Linked DNA regions of Homo sapiens: region 1 is linked to region 2. Evidence: promoter capture Hi-C in 16 types of primary human blood cells and fetal thymus (Javierre and others, 2016). All regions are on one chromosome and are shown on one strand. The core of a region is centred on a gene start or on the middle of the fragment in contact, and the rest is flanking DNA. Distances in the headings are between cores, read along the strand shown. Region 1 overlaps AARS2 (alanyl-tRNA synthetase 2, mitochondrial). Region 2 holds the start of CAPN11 (calpain 11).

The links. The method cuts DNA at HindIII sites, captures the fragments that hold promoters and counts their contacts. A CHiCAGO score of 5 or more calls a contact.
Region 1: a fragment that was not itself captured here is called in contact with the fragment with the promoter of CAPN11 in region 2 in 1 of 17 cell types (naive B cells); the score reaches 6.5 in naive B cells.

Annotation. Positions count from the first base shown.
Region 1 is chr6:44,307,448-44,310,309 of GRCh38, reverse strand. It overlaps AARS2 (alanyl-tRNA synthetase 2, mitochondrial), which reads left to right. Exons shown (of 22, transcript NM_020745.4): 5 at 1-11. The region is part of intron 2 of LOC124901322 (a long non-coding RNA gene); the gene reads right to left. Among named protein-coding and RNA genes, the nearest start is that of AARS2, 4.5 kb to the left of the region's middle. The HindIII fragment of the contact is 1,693 bases long and covers 667-2,359 here.
Region 2 is chr6:44,157,316-44,160,510 of GRCh38, reverse strand. CAPN11 (calpain 11) reads right to left here and starts at 1,691. Exons shown (of 23, transcript NM_007058.4): 1 at 1,647-1,691. The coding sequence starts at 1,662. It overlaps LOC107986599 (a long non-coding RNA gene), which reads left to right and starts at 1,908. Exons shown (of 3, transcript XR_002956350.2): 1 at 1,908-1,926. RefSeq lists an enhancer at 345-514. The HindIII fragment of the contact is 9,288 bases long and covers 1-3,195 here.

The DNA.
Region 1 (2,862 bases), core at 264-2,763, 150 kb before region 2:
CCATACAGCAGGTGAGTGCCTCTTCCCTTCCAGAAGCCCTCTAACCTGCTCTTCACAGCCCTCAGCCCCATTGCATTCCATCTTTGTTGAGAACTCAGAGTGTTCTCAGCATCTGAGGACAATAACCAACCAAGAATTCCAAGACGTCAAGCAAGACACTAGGATTCATTACTTATTACCTGATGTTCCTCCTAACTCCTTGCCTCTTTCATTTATTTAGAAAATACGTGTTGAGTGCTTACTTTATGTTAAATCCTTTGTGTTTGGTACAGAAGACACAGCAGTAAGCAGGAAAGAGATCATGGAGATTATATGCTAGCATGAGAGATAGACAATCAATAAATGTGTTAAAGAACAAGGTAATAGCTTACAGATTGTGAACAGGCAGTAAACATGGGTGAAAGTAACTAGGAAGAAGGAGGGGTACAGAGGAATCTTAGATAAGGTGCTTGGGGAAGGCTCACCAAGAAGATGACCTTTGAGCTGAGCCCCAAAGGAGGAGTCAGCTACAGGAAGTTCTTTCCAGGCAGAGGGGACAGCAGGTACCAAGGGCCTTGGTACTGATGGATTAGATGGGGAGGGGAAAGAGAAATCAAAGATGGCTCCCAGGCTATTGGCTTGAGCAACACAGTGAATGGCATGACTGTTTACTGAGATGAAGAAGCTTGGGGAAGAGAGAGGTTTGGAGCTAGGTGAATCAAGCTCCCTGCTTTGGAGCATTTCCACATGTGTGTAGCTTATACCCTCCCTCCTTGCCCCGCAAGAAAGGGCTTGACATGTGCCAAAAACTAAAAGGTGGCCAGCCAGCTAAAGGAGAATCCCATGGGATATAGTAGGAACATGTGTCAGTTGGCTTTTGCTGTATAACCACCCTAATGCTCTGTGGCTTAACCAACAACCATGTATCTGCCCCCTGAGTCTGTGAGCTAGCGTTTAGGCTGGGCTTAGCTGGCTCATTCTTTGGTCTTGTGTGAGCTCATTCATCCATCTGTGGTGAGCTGAGAGGCCGCAGCTCCTCTGGGGCTTGGCTGGCTGTCAGTTTGGGGGCAGTAGGGGTGACTGGACCATGTGTCTGTCATCACCTAGCTGGCTAGTCTGGGCTTGTCCACATCACAGCTCAGCAAGGTTCCAAGACAGAGAGCAGACACATAGGCTCAGAACAGTGTTGTTTCCACTGTATTCTATGGGCCAAAGCAAGTCACAAAGCCAGCAGAGATTCAGGGGATGGAGAAATGGATTCTGTCCCTTGATGGGAAACAGCTGTAAAGTCCCATTTTAAAGTGGCATATGCCTAGGAAAGGGCCATTTTTGTGAACAGTCTCACAGAGAAGAAGGCAGAATCCAGTCTTGTGGGCCTCAAAGTCCAAAGTGGGGCCTTGATTCTCAGAGTGGTGAGAAGAGTTCTCAGGGCTGGGCACGGTGGCTCACTCCTGTAATCCCAGCACTTGGGGAGGCAGAGGGGGGCGGATCGCTTGAGGTCAGGAGTTGGAGACCAGCCTGGCCAACATGGCAAAATCCTGTCTCTACTAAAAAAATAGAAAAATCAGCCAGGCATGGTGGCACACACCTGTAGTCCCAGCCACTTGGGAGGCTGAGGCAGGAGAATCTCTTGAACCCAGGAGGTGGAGGTTGCAGTAAGCTGAGATCGTGCTACTGCACTCTAACCTGGGCAACAGAGTGAGAGTTCATCTCAAAAAAAATAAATAAATAAAAGTGTACATCAGATCATGCCACACTCCCCACTGAGAACCCTTCTTTTTTTTTTTTGAGACAGAGTCTTGCTTGCTCTGTTGTCCAGGCTGGAGTGCAGTGGCATGATCTCGGCTCACTGCAACCTCTGCCTCCGGGGCTCAAGCAATTCTCGTGCCTCAGCCTCCAGAGTAGCTGGGATTACAGGCACCCGCCAACACACCTGACTAATTTTTGTATTTTTAGTACAGATGGGGTTTCACCAGGATTGGCCAGGCTGGTCTCAAACTCCTGACCTCAGGTGATCCACCCGCCTCAGCCTCCCAAAGTGTTGAGATTACAGGTGTGAGCCACCGCGCCCAGCCTGATGTACACTTTTAAAAGGCTACTCCTGTTGCTGTGTGGAGGATGAGCTGGAGGGAGATGAGAGCAGAAACTTAGGAATCAGTTGGGAGGCTATTATCGGTCCAGGCAAGGACCACAGGGCATGCTTCGGATAATAGCAGTGGAAGTAGAGACAAGTAGATTGATTTGAGAGATGTCATGGAGGTAGGAGCAAAAGGAACCACTGATGGATCATGACGGGTAGGGGAAAAAGAATTCAAAGATGGCTCCCAGGCTATTGACTTGAGCAACACAGTGAATGGCATGACTGTTAGACGAAGAAGCTTGGGGAAGAGAGAGGTTTGGTGGTAAGTGAATCAAGCTCCCTGCTTTGGAGCATTTCCGTGTATGTAGCTTACACTCTCCCTCCCTGCCCACCCCCACAAAAGATGGGAGAGGCAAGAACAGGTAGTGGAGAGCACCTGGAGTCCAACAGGCCCGGCTGAGATCTCAGATCTGCTCCTTGAGAGCTGGGTAGCCTTGTGTCACTGAGTTCCTCTGAGCCTCAGCTTCTTCTTCTTTAAAGCAAGCATGCTAATACCTCCTGGAATGGGCTGTTTTGGGGATTCGAGGCCATGTTGTTCAAGTACTCACCCAGTTCTGATAGTAGAAATTCAGTAAATGGTCACAGATATGTTCACTTGTAGCACCAAATATGAGCCCCGTGAGGGCAGGGCCTGGCTTGTGCTCATCTGTGAGGCTTCTCAGCCCAGGACTGGACTGGCAAGGCCATTCTGGATGTGGTTGGCTTTAGGGCTGAGGGCAGATGCTCTAGAGGCGATAAAGAGC
Region 2 (3,195 bases), core at 442-2,941:
CGAGTAGCTGGGACTACAGGCGCCCGCCACCACGCCTGGCTTATTTTTTGTATTTTTAGTAGAGACAGGGTTTCACCGCGTTAGCCAAGATGGTCCCGATCTCCTGACTTCGTGATCTGCCCGCCACGGCCTCCCAAAGTGCTGGGATTACAGGCGTGAGCCACTGCGCCCGGCCAGATCGTTTTTAACTAAATCAGTTTTATTTTATTGACAAAAAAAGTATATATCTGTTGTATACGACATGGTGTTTTGAAATATGTATTCACTGTGGAATGGCTCAGTTGAGCTAATTAATATCTGCATTACTGCACATACTTGTTATTTGTTTGTGGTGAGAACACTTAAAATCTACTGTCAGTGATTTTCTTTTTTTTTTGAGATGGAGTCTCGCTGTGTCGCCCAGGCTTGGGGTGCGGTGGCACGATCTCGGCTCACTGCAACCTCCACTTGCTGGGTTCAAGAGATTCTCCTGCCTCAGCCTCCCGAGTAGCTGGGATTACAGGCGCCCGCCACCACGCATGGCTAATTTTTGTATTTTAGTAGAGACACGGTTTCACTATGTTGGCCAGGCTGGTCTCGAACTCCTGACCTCAGATGATCCACCTGCCTTGGCCTCCCAGAGTGCTAGGATTACAGGCGTGAACCACTGTGCCTGGCCTCTCTCAGTGATTTTCTAAATGCAATACATTGTTATTAGGGGACTATAGATTTAAGGACAGTTTGATTTCCGGCACTGGGAAAAAACTAAGATGTTGTGTCAGGGAACTTTAAAAAAAAATAAATACTAATAAGTAATAATAATAAATAAATAAATTATATTTTGAGATGAGGTCTTGCTATGCTGACCAGGCTGGTCTTGAACTCCTGGGCTCAGGGCACTTCTGAAGAACAAGGACTGGGTTTGGGGTCACCAGCTAGGCCTAAACTTCCTAGGGTCAGGTAAACAGGGAGGGCCTGAGAAGCTGGGAGGCTGGGTCTAGGGGCCCATGGTCTCACGGTGCCCCAGGCTGAGGGTGAGGTACAGGGCTGACCTTCTGCTGGCCAAGGCTGGCTGCCCTCTGTGCACCCTAGCCCCACAGGAACAACTCAGTTCTGCCCAGCCCTCCCCTTCCCCCCAGCCCACTCTCCCCCATCTCCTGGAGTCTGGTCCCAGGCTTGCCTCAGGTAGTCCTGCCCCTGCCACCCTGAGGATCTCATCTTCCTGGGCTGAGGGACCTGCTTTTCTAGGCTTAGGAGAGGTTCTCTCTGTTCCCTAAAGTTTTCTTCTCTACGTGGGCTTTTTCACACAAACCCTTTTCCCCAGCAGCCATGACAGTGGGATGGCCGGCCCCTCTCCTCTCCCCAACTCCAACTGTCAGTGGAGAGGAGAAAGAGTTCCTGCCCGGCCTACCACCCAGTCTGACCACCAGTGGCCTATCCTTCCCCAAACAGTCTGAGAACGAGGCCCAGGTCCTGTCCTTAGGGAGCATCCAGTCTGATGGAAGAGTCACTCTCTGTACCCTCAAGGGGCATCCAGTCTGATGGAAGAGTCACTCTCTGTACCCTCAAGGGGCACCCAGTCTGATGCGGGACACAGCTCCTCCCCTGGGGGGAGGCTCTAGCCTGCAGGAGGTACAGGAGTGGGGCAAGGCCCCATGAGTGCCTACCTGGGGAGTACAGCATGCTGGTGGCTAGCTCGGTGCTTGACAGTTGAAGGTTCTGGTGGGAGGGGGAGAAGAGACCCTCCCCCCAGAACTCTCTCATTGCAGTGGGATTCCTAGGTCAGCAGCCGGTTTAACAGCTGCCTTCCCTTTTCTCCTTCTCAGTAACCCAGCCCCTTACCCAGCTGAGGGCTACCCGCTTTAGGGACAGATGACCCAGCACCCCTGCCTTGCACAGCCTCCACCAGCCTGGCTGTCCTCACTGTATCACGGTCATCCCATCAGGGTAGGTCCCAGTCCCTTTTTTTCAGCCCAAGGTTTCCAGGAAGGGGTTGTCCCTGACACACCAACCTGACCTTTACATCCAGAAAGCCTTCTCATTCCCAAAAGCCCCTTTCTCACTGACATGGCATTTTTCCTGTGTTGCTGTCTTCACATGGCACCCTCCTCTGTGTCTCTTCTTCTTATAAGGACACCAGTCATATGGGGCTAGGGTCCCATGCATTTCAGTATGACCTCATCTTAATTGAACGAATTACATCTGCAACCACCCTGTTTCCAAATGAGGTCACATTCTGAAGTACTGGGGGCCAGGACTTCAACATGCCTTTTTGGGGGACACGATTCCACCTGCAACACTCTCCTTGCCTAGCCCCAGTCTGGCAAGGTTAGGCCACTGGTCTGACCACATGTCCTGCCTCTGCACTGGAAAGTGGGAATGCTTTGAGCTAAGAACTCTGCTCCAGAGTGCAGTCTTCTCTGGAGTGTATGATGGCTGAGGACAGGGACTGTCAAGGTCATCCCAGTGCCCCTCAGCCCTGCCTGGTGCTAATCAGGCACAGAACAGGTGTGAGAGCACCCAATGGGATCAGAGAACCTTGTTCCAAGCTCTGAAACAGGAGCTGACCTTGGGCGAGCCCTCCCCCTTTCTCCTTTCTGGGACTCAATCTCCTCATCTACGAGAATATTAATTATGGTTTGTTATTATGTGCCAAACACTGGGCTAAGAACTTCCTACTTATTTAATCCTTAAAACAGCCAGAGGCCATGACATTGCTATTCCCATTTTATAGATGAGGAAAGTGAGGTCTAGAGGTATGATGCAACTTGCCCAGGGTCACACAGCTGTTAAGCGGTCGAGCCAGGATTTAAACTAATAACTTCAGATTTTTTTTTTTTTTTTTTTTTTTGAGATGGAGTCTCGCTCTTTTGCCCAGGCTGGAGTGAAGTGGTGCAATCTCAGCTCACTGCAACCTCTGCCCCCCGGGTTCAAGCGATTCTCCTGCCTCAGCCTCTCAAGTAGCTGGGATTACAGGTGCCCACCACCATGCCCAGCTAATTTTTGTATTTTTAGTAGAGACGGGGTTTCGCCATGTTGGGCAGGCTGGTCTCGAACTCCTGACCTCAGGTGATCACTCGCTTCGGCCTCCCAAAGCGCTAGGATTATAGGCATAAGCCACCGTGCCCGGCCATAACTTTAGCTCTTATCCGTATCTTCTGCTGCCCCCAGCTGTGAAAGGAGGAAGTGGTCTTTGGGGATCCTGTGGTCTCCCCT